Linked DNA regions of Homo sapiens: regions 1 and 3 are each linked to region 2. Evidence: promoter capture Hi-C in 16 types of primary human blood cells and fetal thymus (Javierre and others, 2016). All regions are on one chromosome and are shown on one strand. The core of a region is centred on a gene start or on the middle of the fragment in contact, and the rest is flanking DNA. Distances in the headings are between cores, read along the strand shown.

Region 1 (4,192 bases), core at 797-3,296, 370 kb before region 2:
GACTGACTGGAATGAAGCTGGCACTCAACAAGTTGCAGATCCCTTCCTCTAATTTCCCTTCTCTGCTAAACAAGTAACTTTTTTAACAGTGCAAAAGAATACTTCAGGTGAAAAGTATCCTAAGTTCTGAATGAATAAAATCAAATTAAGGAAAGTCAATCTCTGTGTCTGCAAAAGTAAATGAAAAAAAAATTGAAAAAAAAATATAAACTATAACATAAATGATATGGTGGTTTATTGCCTTGTTGAAGATTTTTATTCTCATTTTCTGGGTGTACTTATTGAACTGGTGGTAATTGCTCTCATTAGTATATCAAAATATTTAATAGACTTGGCAAAAAATTGTTTTAAGTATGTGTGTTACTCTTTGGAGAGTTAGTGTATCTCTCTTGGCTTTTGATAACTTGGTCAAACATATAGCAATTTGGTCTGTATCCAGGCTGTTTCAGGGATTGGCAAGCTTTTTCCATAAAGGACCAGTCAGCAAATATTTTAAGTTCTGCAGGCCATATGGTCTCTATCAGATCTACTCAACTCTGCTGTAGAAAAACAAAAGTAACCTTGACATTGTGTAAATGAGTGGGCATGGCTTTGTACCAATGAAATTTATGAATACTAGAATTTGAATTTCATATAATTTTTATGTGTCATGAAATATTATTCCACAGATTTTTTTCAACCATTTAAAAATGTAAAAATTATTCTTAACTCACAAGCTGTATAAAAACAGGTGGCAGGCCAGGTTTGGCCCAGGAGTTACAGTCTGCACATTAGACTTGGAGATAAAAGGCTAAGGTTCTAGATAAAACTCAAGCATCCACTGCCTAAGCCAGCTTGGCTGCTGATTTCTTTATTCTGGGTCTCTACTTCCTCAAGTGAATATTGAAGTCATTAAATGAGTTTTTTTTTAAAGGCCCTTCTCTCCTTTAAAGTTCTATGATCAATCCTGCCAGAATAACCCTGAGGGATAATTTGAACCACACAAGTCTTTCCTTGGAATTCTCAGAAGGAGAATGGTAGGAATCCTTTGGGGTGATGTTTAGGGTGCTAACATCTCTCATTTGCTCTCAGAGCTCAGGCTTAGAATTTCCTAACTTGAGACCATACTATTTCTGAGAAAGGGAGTCATAGCCTGATGAATGAGACTGTTTTGATGTTTATCTCGCCCACTATTCCATCAGTAGATACATGTGAGTGTGAGACCACCTCATCTCTATGGTTATTTCTATGGAAAGTCCCCTGAGGCAAACTCCCTGTGCATGGAGTTTTTTCCAGGAGTGCAGTTATGGAACAAAATTAAGATGAAAATTTCTGAGCTGGGTGTGCTGGCACATGCCTATAGTCCCTGCTACTCAGGAGACTGAGGTGGGAGGATCTCTTGAGCCCAGGAGTTCAAGACCATTCTGGGCAACATAGTAAGATCCCACCTTAAAAAAAAAAAATTTTACACTTCAATGATCTTTCAACTTGAAGGATTTAAGGACCAGAAAAATAACTTTGGGTCCTTACTTTCATTTCATTTGCCAAACTAGAATCTTAAAAATATTACACATACACACACACACACACTCCCCAAAGCCAACCAAACAATAGACACTGAAGGAAGGCCCAAGAGTTCTAGGCCAATCTTCTAATACATAGTTTTATTTACCTGGAGGAAAGGAAATGCAGACAGGATATTAGGAATTTTCTCTTCTAGAGCTAAAATGGTTTGGAGTAAAATCACATCTGCAAGGCTCAGCTGATTACCAACAAGAAAGCTTTGTCCGTGACCCCTTAAAATCTGTAGGGAAATGGTGTGCATCAGTTACAATATTCCACATGGAGAGAGTGATGAGGCTATTGAATCAGTGCAGTATCTGAGAAGAGGTGAAACTATGACCTTGTCATTTCATGCTTTCATAAATAACATCAATTAAGAGAACGCACCCTATATCTGACAGAGAGAGTGAGAGAGAGGGGGAGAGAGAGAGAGAGAGAGCGAGAGAGAGAGAGAGAAAGTACAAAAAAGGTGTGGAAATGAAAGCATCCTTAAATATCTGCTGTGGATCTGAATGAGACATTGAAGTGGGGAAGGGAAAATTCCTTATTTCTGGATTTAGCATCTGGTGTTTTGAAAGGATATATCTACTCCAAAAATGTATCTACAGAAATGCATGCAGGAGGCTTGGGGAGGGGCAGGGTGATTTAAGAAATCTAAGTGATAGATCATCTTCAAGGGGCCCACTCTTATTTCCCAGTTCTGCTGCTAGAACATCAAGAGGTGTAGTCATAAACTCAACCCAATTATAAAATTAGACTTCCTCTTACATGTCCCAAAACAGAGAAAATGAAAAGCTTGAGTTCATCTTGACTCCCATTCTGAGGGTAACGTATAGGTGTGGGGCTTATAAGAATAGATTGTGATTAGGGAGAGGCAAGAAGCAGTAGTAGCAAAGGGGAGATCCCCTTCACAGTCAACTCTTGGATGCCCATGGGTGTCTGCATGTGCACAAGTGTGTGTGTCACAGGGACTCCGAACACAATTCCAGGTCAAATATAGCTACTGGAGCCAGAGTGGCATAGTACAATGCATCCTGAATTTGTAGTCAGAGGCCAGAGTTCCAACCCTGCTCTCCATTTTCTGGCCATGTTACCTTGGACAGGTCACTGAATCTCTTCATGACTTCATTTCATTATGTGTAAAAGGGACAACGGTTCTCACCTCATAGGCGTGTTGCAAGAAACCCTGACACAGTCTGGGCCCTTGGGACCTAAGAATGAGCAGTGAACCTTTGCCAAAGCACCAGGTCCTCTGTGCCCGTTCCAGACCACATTTCTTCATTATCCTATTTTACATTCACAAAGTGCCTGTGGGAAAGATACCATAAAACCTAGCTACAGAAACCCCAGAAAATACCTCTCCTTTTTCCTAAATCTAGTTCCATAAAGATGGTCAGAGGAAGCTTGCCAAATAGGTCTTCCCATATTTTCACACCCTCTTCTTTAGTGTTTGCATTGAAACACTAAAAAAGTTCCTCCCAGTTCAGGAATAAAGAATTTGAAGCTCAGAAAAGCAGATATAACAAGAAGAGAAAAACAACAAAACCAAAAACAAAAAGAGCAAAGGGAAGATAAATAAAATGGAAATGGTTCTTCTACTCATATCGAATTATCAGGGAGGATGTCAGCTGAGACAGCTGTTCGACAACTTTTGTTGAATGAATGAATGAGGTAGTTTTTGTTTTCTGTATCTTCTGAAGTTTCTGCTGTATCCACACAAGGTGGGAACTTGGTGAATGCAAGGAACAATAAGGAACAAAGGCAGGGAGCCCATACTTTTTCTAGACTTCTGAATCATGTGGTCCTAGCAGAGTCCAAGGGGCTCTAAGACACCAGCTTTGTGCTGTGGCTACTATTCGCTCTTAGGAGTCCATTAGCGCTTAGGTTAGTTCAACTGGGCTCAGTTTTAAAATCCTTGGACAGAAAAGGGTGTTTGTGGCAGCTTCTTTGTGGTTTGTGGTTTGGTTGCTCTGTGTATGTAGGCATCTCTGCCACCTACCTTTTCAAACACAGGAAAGTATCTAATTATAGCCTTCTGGGCCATGTTAACCACTTCCTTTTGCTGATCATCTGGTTTTAAGAAAGGATGCATGATAAGCAGTTCCAGCAGATCCAGTGTCCCCTCCACGTACATGTCAATCCTTAAAACAAAAAAGCAGTTGTCTCAGTTTCTCCTCTCTTTGAAGCCATCAGTTTCCACAACTAAGAATTCAGAGTGCTTTTTTTTTTTTTTTTAAAGATGCTGCAACTTAAGTCCCTAGAAGCATTTACCTATACCTGTCTCTTAAGAGCAAAGATATAAGGTCAATTCTAGTTGTAACTCAGAAAAATCTGTCACAGATCAGACAGCTTGACAGTCATGAGTGCTCTCTCTCCTGGCATCCTACTCCTCCACTTTTACCCCAGCATCCATGTTTTGGTCTCTTCGTATGGGTCAAACTTCAACTTTATAAAAATAGTGAATACCACTTATTGAGTGCTTAGAGTGTACCAGGCATGGTGCTAAACACTCTCTATCCATTATCTCATTAAATCACATGACACTATGAGAAATGTACTATTCTTATACCCACGTTGCCCAGGGTCATACATCTAAGGGGTGCAAGGACCAGGCTTTGATTTCAAATTATAATCTAATGCTCACTCTCCC
Region 2 (4,766 bases), core at 1,170-3,669:
ATTTACAGGTAACTAATGAGAGGATTAGCCTTTTGATAACAGAAGAGCTGGTAGGCAAAGAGGAGGAATTAAAAAAAAAAATTACAAAATCTTTTAGGAGAGAAGAATGTAGCCAGGAAAGCAAGAGGTAAAACTCTCTCTTCACACTAACTACCCACCTAGGCACCAAAGTTACCCTCAAGAAAAGTAAACAGTTTTGCTTTGATTTGTGTAATTCAAGCTGGAAATAAGACACCCAAGGATGGATGCTCACCTCTAGAAGCAGGAAGACAAGCAACCATTATGCAGGGAGCAAAAGAAGAGGTAGTGGAAAAAAAGATTCTTGCAAACAGAACATCCAAAAATTAAGGTCTGTAACCAAGAAGAAGCTGTTGATTTCAGGGAATGGGAAGGAAACATTTTCAAACCACCATTTGGCAGACTCAATGCTGGGCTCTCATTTGCATTATCTCTTGAAATCCACAATGATCCTGCCACATAAAATCCCCATGTATAGACAAGGAAATTGAGTCAAGGAGGTGAGGTCAATATCTGAAGTTACAAGATATTTTTCTTGAAAAACATCAAATTTTAGTAAGCCTTCTACTGTCGCTTTTCAGCAAAGTTCTGTACTACATTCTGTAACATTACCTATCTGTAACTATCAATAAAAATTTCCCCTTTGTCTTCAATTAGAAATAGAAACGAAAATGCAAAAAGAGAAACAGTACAGAAAAAGTTCCTGGCAATAAGAAGTTAGAATCTAGGGTAAAAATCTAAAAGGAAAATGAGTAACATTTCCCTTTCAAGTGCAGAGCTTTCCTGGAGAATCCCAGGCAGTGTCTGAGCTACCAGAAAAGTAACCCACTTGTCCCCAATCACAGATGGAAGGCTAAAATGTTTGTCCACGGCCATCTAATGCAAAACCGCCTGTTTCTATCTGTAGATTCTGCACGAAATGCTTTTGGCTGAGACGTGCAAGCAAAACAAGTGCAGACCAACAGGTTATCTGCCAAGCGGTTAGGAGAATGAGTTACAAAACCTGACAAGCAACATCAGCTCTTCCGTACAATTCTATGAAGCACTTCCTGCCACGGGTCCCGCTATTTAAAACAAATTAGGCTGCTCGCTCCCCACAAATCCCATCTAGCACCTCTCGGTTCCTCAGTCTAGCTAATAAACCATGCACTGGATTCTTCCGAAAGAGACCCCCCGCCCCCGACCCCGCCACCTCCGCCACTTTGCATAACTGGCCAAATGCATTCTCCAAATTTGCAATCAAGGAGCTTAATTCACAATTGTGGATGGGGCGGGGGGAACCGCCAAGTGCAAGAACACGGAACGGTTGCAAGACGCAGTTCAGCAAGAACAACTCTTGCTCTAGGCATTGCTCCGTCGACCCGAGGTGGTGGGGTGGGAGAGTCTTACCGGCGTGGAAACAGTAAAAAGGCACTTTTCCTTACAACTCGCAAGACAACACACACTCTAGCTCCCCCGGCGCAGAGCACAACCGCCCCCCCGCCGCGCGCCTCCCTCGCAGCCAACCGCTCCCGCCTCTCCAGGGATCAGGCTCCCAGAAAGGGCCGCCCCGGTCGCCCCCGAGTCCCCGCCCTCTCGCTTTCCCACCAGCCTCATCCCTCCCTGAGTACCAAGGGCTGCCGTTGTCTGGTTTCAATAAAAACTGAAGCGGTCCCGAGCTAGCAGGCTTCCCTCCGAGGGGCGGACGGAAGGTCCGCAGGGTTAACGGAAGCGGAGAGAACAGGACAAAAAGGAAAGGCCGGAGAGTCCCCCCAGCGGCGCCCGGTGCCCGCAGACCCTCGCACAGGCTCTTCGAACTCACCCGGGTTTCGCCGACTCCAAAGAAAGCGCGCTCCCTCCGAGAGCGCTCCCCCGGCTCTCCCGCCGCGCGCTCCGGCCCGCAGGGCGGGAGGACCCAGGCGGACAGATCCATCCCTCCGCGTCTGGTGTGGGCACGGTGTCGTGCCCCGCGGCGCCTGTCAGCGCGCACAGGTGGGACCGCAGCACAGAGAACGCTCCCGAGCGCCCTGCCTCAGCCTCGGCGTGGGGCGAGCCGCCCGCGCCCGCACCCGCACCCCTTTCCCCGCGCCCGAGGAGCCGGGCTGTACCCCGGAGCCGGCGGAGCTGGAGGCCGCGGGCGGAGCGCGGGTTGCCCCGGCAGCTCTTTCTCGGCACCAGGTCCGAGACCTAACGGCAGTTCTCTCTGACCGCTTCCCGGCCGCGCGCTCGCGCGGGTGTCATGGCCGAGCGGCGGCCCCCGACGAAGTTTCCCGGAGCTGACGGCTTTACCTTTTAGCCCAAGGGGCGGCAGCAGCTTTGAGCAGCAGCAAGGCGGCGGCGGCGGAGGGAGCGCGGGTGGCAGCCGGCGCAGAGGCGGATGTAGAAGGAGACACCGGTGGCTAGGACCCGCGCGATGGGAAGAGGAAGGCGCCGGCTATCTACAATCAGAACGTGGGCTGACCGTGACGTCACAATGGCGCGGCCAGCCAATCGGGACCCGAAGGATGAATCAAGCGCTATGATGTCATGCGGCCCGGGAGCCAATCGCGGGACAATAGAACTTTCGTGATCGTAAATTCCAGAATCCGATGCGGTGGAGAGCCTAGGCCGGGGTTGGCCCCTCGGTTCCACGTGTCTCTGGGAAATTTTTTTCCCCTTTCTTCCTAATAAGCCTGCGTGGAACGCAGAGCCTGCGCAATAGCCCCGGTGAAGTTGTCGATGCCCTGAACTCTGGTTTTTTTACTGCCAGGCGTGGCAGGAGTCTGTGGCCGCATTTGGGTGGCAGAAGCCCACCCTCGTTACGGTCTCCTCTATGAGTTATGTCATGCTGAAGGGGATCCACTTCATCGTTAAAGCTGAAAGGGTTAAATGCCCACGGAGACCGCCGGAGTGAAGGTCTGCAGTTGAACAAGATAAAGGAACAAGAACAAAACGACTCAAAACTGTTGTAACCATAACTCCCTTGCAAAGGATTTACCGTGTATTTTTCTTAGGGATTCTGATTTTTCTTTGGAAGCCACTATCAACTCCATTTCTACTCTAGAAATTATTCTAAAGGATTGTTAAATGAGGAAAGATGGAATCAGTGTCTTTTCAGCTAAGCATATTTAAGCACTTAAGACAAAGGGGGTTCAGGGCATAAACGGAAGATCCTTGCTGTTTTTCACTGATATTTGGATAATTAAAGACCTTCATTAGCTTTGTATCCTACTGTTTCCCCATTCAAACCCCAGAGATTTAGCCTTTCTTCGTGTGCCCCTCTTGCTGTATTCTTACTCCTCTATGTGCATCCACCTAACAGTCGGCTATTTAATGTAGGCAAATTTATTCTTTTTTTTCTTTTTTTTTCTTTTTTGAGACAGAGTCTCGCTCTGTTGCCCAGGCTGGAGTGCAGTGGCGCGATCTCAGCTCACTGCAACCTCCACCTTCCGGGTTCAAGCGATTCTCCTGCCTCAGCCTCCCAAGTAGCTGGAATTACAGGCACGCGCCACCACACCCGACTAATTTTTGTATTTTTAGTAGAGATGAGGTTTCGCCATGTTGGCCAGGCTGGTCTCGAACTCCTGACCTCAGGTAATCCGCTCGCCTCAGCTTGCCAAAGTGCTGGGATTACAGACGTGAGTCACCGAGCCTGGCCGGCAAATTTATTCTTTTACATATTTACAATGTAATGCTTATCACGTGCCAGCTGTGTTCCAGGCAGTGGGCCATTGCAATAGGAATGCAAGTATACAAACCATGTACAAATTAAGTAAATTAAACATATACAAAGAATCGAGATTGTCAGTTGCCATTGAGCTCCACAAACACTGAATGACTTCAATTTGCTAGATACTATGTTAGGTATTCAAAATTTGAAACCTTCAAGGACTTCTTGGGCCTGGAAAATGATACAGTCAGGAAGCAACTACAATGCAGAGTGGTAAATGCTGCTATGGACATCAAGGGACATGAGAAAAGCATATGCTGGTGGCATAGACTATTTTTTTGAGATATCTCCTTCATTCTTCACGCTTCTGCCAGTAGTCCAAGGCCAGGGTTCATCTCTGTCATCCCATCTAAGTTTTGCCTTTCCAGGTTTTAAAAGTTTCTAATTTAACTTGAGATTCCAAAAGTCTTAAGTTTTACGCCGCACTTGTTTGAATTGTGCTTACCTATCAATAAAATGTTTTAAGCCCATTTGACCAAAATATCTTTAAGTTCAGGCTTATATAACTGTCAAGCTATGCATTAAATATCAAGTGATTTTTCTTATTGTATGATTAAGTATGACGTTTTGCTGTTTTTTCCCATCCCCCAAAGGCTGCGTTTTTACACAGTTCTTTGTTGATGTGTGTATCTTGGTTTCCATTATAGCATCACCACCCTGTATTGTAGTTGCTTTCTGATGGCATCATCTCACTCAATCCTTGGGGTATATGTACCCCACTTTAAAGACCACCGCTTTAGGTAGTAAACTCCGTTGAAGGGGAAAACATGTTGAATTTTGCTCCTTATTGATCTGTAGATCTTAGTACAATCCCTGGCATATAAGGGCTCAATAAATACGTGTTAGATGAGTGAATCTGTGAACAGTTACTCCCCCTCACCATCACCATCACTTTTCAGCTCCAGAGTTCCAATCCTCTGTCAGATAGTCACATCCCAGGATTATTAGATTATTAACTCCTCTCAAACATGTTGGTACGGTCATGTTCTCATTAGTTCTCCAGCCAGAGACTTAGAGTTCTCAGAACATATATATATATGCAAATGTATTATTTTACATA
Region 3 (4,346 bases), core at 328-2,827, 450 kb after region 2:
GCCGCTCGGGACCCGGCTAGGCGGCGGCGGGGGCGGCGATGTTCCACTGCATCCCCCTGTGGCGGTGCAACCGTCATGTGGAGAGCATCGACAAGCGCCACTGCTCGCTGGTCTACGTCCCCGAGGAGATCTACCGCTATGCCCGGAGCCTGGAGGAGCTGCTGCTGGACGCCAACCAGCTCCGCGAGCTGCCCGAGGTAAGGGTCCGGCCTCACCTGAGCGCTCTGCCCGCTCGTCTGCTGTCCCTTCCGCTCCCATCCTCTCTCGTCCCCTCTTCCATCTCCGGGTCCGGCGTGAAGGAACCTTCCCTCTTTTATGCATTCACCTGCTTCTTTCTCCCCCTGTCTCTTTACTTCCATCCTTTCCCAGTAAAAGTTCCTTTTCATTTTATTCAAAGTGACCGGATATTTTGCGCGTAGTCACTGGGGCTCGTGCTATTGGAGAAGCGTTCTGGACTGTTAAGTAACTTAGATCCATGCTAGGTACTGACACCTGGCACTTGTGCCCGGTCAGGTGAGAAGCCGGGTGATTCGGGCTGTTTCCATCTGGAAGCTACAGAGCACTGCATCCTCCCCCCCTCCACTCCCCGGGGTCGTTCCCCCACCAAGGGCCGGGCGCGCCTCTCCTTTAGTCAAGGCATGTCCCGGAGGACCTTGTGACCTGGGCAGCGCTCAAGCGGGCCGCACTATCTCGGCATCTTGGGAGGAATGAGGAATGTGCTCCGTGCTTTATCGCGGGTGGGCTTGGCCGGCTGGCCTGCGGTGGCTGCGGGGGTGGACGCGAGATGGGCGCAGGGGAGAGCTGGGCCTGGAGCGCTAGGGGCAGGTGCCCAGATGCCGGCCGCCCGGGCCTTGCCTACGTGGACCTGTTGCGTGGTGGGAGCTGCGGTGAACGTCAGCGGAGGCTCTGCCCGCGGGCCAGCCTTGCAGCCGCCTTTCCCGGAGCGGGCACAGTCGTCCTGCTGACTTTCTCTCCTTGCAGTGATGCGTTATCTCTTCAGAGTTGTTTATGTAAATTGATCACTCCATTGCCGCCGAACTTGTCAAGCGACATGTGCTGATGGTGCTTTGACCGAGAGTAGGGGTACAGCGAACTTCTTTCAAGCTTGCCTCGGGAACTTAGCTAGAGTAACCCCTCGGGGAAGGTGTCTCAAACCCAGGTGTGTGCAGGAAGTCGGTGTGCAATAATCCAAAGGTGTGCAGGAAGTAGGGAGACTGCTGGCAGTCGGGGATTGGACCTGTTTTAGGCCTGAGCTTTGGAACGCAAACTTCTTGTTGCCCTTTAGTTAACACAAGCCAAATCATTGTCACAGAAACACTAGTCAAGTGTTCTGACTTGTTAGAATGACCTGATACGTTCTCCAGCGCTGATGGAGCATTTAAACAATAAGAACTGTGTGTTTTTCTCAATATTTTAAGTGGTGGTGTTCTTCTTGGATTAACTTTCCTGGGTTCATGTGGAATTGATTGGATGTTTGCTCTGTGTAATCATGGAGATTATCCTCACTAGGACCTTTGCAAAGCCCCCCAGGCTTTATTTAGCTTAGAAGCAGCAAAGCCATCAAGTTCCCTCAGGCGTTTATTATTTCGCAGGCATTTTCAAACACATGATTTTTTTCTGGCCTTTTACGTCCTTGAAGATTTCTTACCAGTCGTCAGCTCCCTCACTGCTTTAAGTTGTGTAATTTTAGGCAGTGATATCACCAGGAATATAGAATATGTAATTTAATAGTTTTCAGGGGCTTCAGGATGACATTATTGAAGATGGAGTGAAAAGTTATTCACTAGAAATGATTCATTGCTCTTTGTGGTATTTGTTTTTTTGTTTTCTTTTGTAGAACTGGAAGATTTCCTTTGACTGGATTGGCTTTTCACTCCCTTCTGCAGGGTTTGTGGGTTTTCCTGTAATGTTGGGGAATTCAGCTTGGCATGGGAAATTACATAATTTCCCATGCCAAGCCGAAATGTCAGGTCTTTCTGTGATCCTAAATGGAAACTTGTCAGAATCTCAAAATATAGTCTGATGGCACTCTGTAAATATGGTAAATAAACAAGCTTTTCAAAGGTTACAGGTGATCTTGCTAATGGATTATTATTGCTCTAACAGCTGTTAAATTAGTATTAAAGTTTTTAGGTTGTGTAAAATCTACTTCTCCCTGACTTATTGTGTGTCTTGGTGCCTGGGTGTGTACATGCCAGACATGAGAACCACCTTGCAAACATAGATATCTGTTCCATCCCTTCCATTCTTTCCTTGGGCTATCTGTTGTCTCACCTCTGAGATCTGTATAACTTATTACCACTGGTCTCTGCTGCTCCTGCTCCAAACCCCTGTCTCCTTACCTGCCACACACAAGCGCATCTGTTTTGTTCACAAGCCTCAAAGGTCCTTATTTTGGTGGCCATACCAGCTGTATGTTCTCCTCTCTATAATTTGTTTGGAAGCACAGCTTAAGGGGAAGCCGGTACCCCTTACCAGGGCAGCAAAGATGCACTCTCCAGGTTTCAGTGTAATAACAGCCACCTTCTTTCCACTGAAAGGCCTGCAACTTCTGGTTTGCGCCAATATCTTCCTTTTACAAATTCAGATTCAGAATTGAGGTGACTTTCTCAGGGCTGTCCAGTGAGTTAGATGCAGTTGCTGGTGGGTCTTGTTCATTCAGATGTCAGCCAAATACAATTGCTTTGGACACCTAGCAGGAATCTTCTATCCTGCTTCTCACACCCATCAAATCTTTATTTAGTCTCTCCTGTTTTACTCATGTCATTATAACTTAGCCTTAGCCAAGCATTTATTGAGACTCCATTATTTACAAGTTATTGGGAATATAGAGATTAAAGGAGGCATGATTCACATCTTTGGGAGGAAGCAGATGATTTTAATCCAGATGTAGTTAGTGTGGGATGGAAAGGACACCACGGTTAAACTACTCCTAAGCTATGGACTTGATGGTTACTTCCCTAATCTTTTAACCTTTTGCATCAGATCCCTCATCTTCAGTTTGGTTGCAGTTGGGTGATAGCCTCACCATCCTTTTTGCATCCACCTACTTCTCCCCCATACCCGCAGTTTGATCCTTTTTGGCTCTGTGCTAACAAAGGCAGTCTCACTGTAACCTTCTTGAGATGTCTGTGTGTTTTTGCTTACCTTTGTTTATTTTTTATTTATTTATTTTTTGAGACGGAGTCTCACTCTTGTTGCCTAGGCTGGAGTGCAGTGGCACGATCTCCACTCACTGCAAGCTCCTCCTTCTGGGTTCACACCATTCTCCTGCCTCAGCCTCTCGAGTAGCTGGGACTACAGGTGCCCACCACCACACCCAGCTAATTTTTTAGTATTTTTAGTAGAGACAGGGTTTCACCATGTTAGCCAGGATGGTCTCGATCTCCTGACCTCATGACCCACCCGCCTTAGCCTCCCAAAGTGCTGGGATTACAGGCGTGAGCCACCATGCCCGGCCTTACCTTTGTTCAGCACAGAATCTCATCCTTGTGACACCCAATAGGTCTTGCTCAATAAACAGTTATTTATCTGTTGAATGAATGTTGCCGAATCTTATAAAAATCTTCCTCCCTCTGCTTCTTTCTTTTCCCTTAAGCATATCACTGCTCCAGCATCTATCCTTTTCTAATATAGTCAGAATATTCAAGTTGGAAGCAACTTCAGAAGAAAAGGTCATTCATAGGGTGACACTGTTTTGTCCTACTTGCCCTGCAGGAACCTTGGCTTCCCCTCTGTACTTCCTCAGCCTTTCACATGCCATTGGTTTTCTCCTCAGTGTGCACCAGTTCTCAGATACCTTCAAATGCGTGTGTTTTCCTGTAATCTCCAGCACCAATATAGCGCTTCATGTAGTAGTAGGCAGCACATATTTTAAATGAATATACTAAAGGCTTCATAGCTTTAAAAATTTGAATTTCACCTTGCCACCTCCTCTTAAGAGTTCAGTTGATTTTTGTTGATTGCCAGATGGCATTATCTCAAATGCCTGCCCCCTACATCATTCTTTCTCATATTCTGCTTTATTTTTTCCTGTCCTTTAGAGCATATATCATTACCTAACTCCAGACCATATATTTGCTTTCTTGTTCTTTGTCTCTCTCCCTAACTAAAACATAACCTCCATGAGTGCAGAGGTCTTCACGGCTGGACCTAGGACAGTATTTAGTACATAGTGGGCACAAAGATGTGTCAGTGAGTCCTAACATGGGTAGATGGGCCCTGTTTCTTAGCCGTCATAATTCCCCTTCCTATGGTCAGACTTTTGTACACCAATCTGGTGAAGCTATTGTTGACACAAAGTCTTCTTTCAGAATCCGGTGTCCTTGTCTTGCCAGTTTTTGTTT

The links. The method cuts DNA at HindIII sites, captures the fragments that hold promoters and counts their contacts. A CHiCAGO score of 5 or more calls a contact.
Region 1: a fragment that was not itself captured here is called in contact with the fragment with the promoter of ELOVL5 in region 2 in 1 of 17 cell types (naive CD8 T cells); the score reaches 5.8 in naive CD8 T cells.
Region 3: a contact is called between a fragment that was not itself captured here and the fragment with the promoter of ELOVL5 in region 2, in 1 of 17 cell types (fetal thymus). The highest score is 5.1, in fetal thymus.

Annotation. Positions count from the first base shown.
Region 1 is chr6:52,980,923-52,985,114 of GRCh38, forward strand. GSTA4 (glutathione S-transferase alpha 4) reads right to left here. Exons shown (of 7, transcript NM_001512.4): 5 at 3,542-3,683; 6 at 1,652-1,783. Among named protein-coding and RNA genes, the nearest start is that of GSTA4, 12 kb to the right of the region's middle. The HindIII fragment of the contact is 577 bases long and covers 1,759-2,335 here.
Region 2 is chr6:53,346,531-53,351,296 of GRCh38, forward strand. It overlaps ELOVL5 (ELOVL fatty acid elongase 5), which reads right to left and starts at 2,420. Exons shown (of 8, transcript NM_021814.5): 1 at 2,287-2,420. RefSeq lists a silencer at 1,821-2,260. The HindIII fragment of the contact is 17,438 bases long and covers 1-4,766 here.
Region 3 is chr6:53,795,219-53,799,564 of GRCh38, forward strand. It overlaps LRRC1 (leucine rich repeat containing 1), which reads left to right. Exons shown (of 14, transcript NM_018214.5): 1 at 1-197. The coding sequence starts at 39. Among named protein-coding and RNA genes, the nearest start is that of LRRC1, 2.4 kb to the left of the region's middle. RefSeq lists an enhancer at 1-571. The HindIII fragment of the contact is 950 bases long and covers 1,103-2,052 here.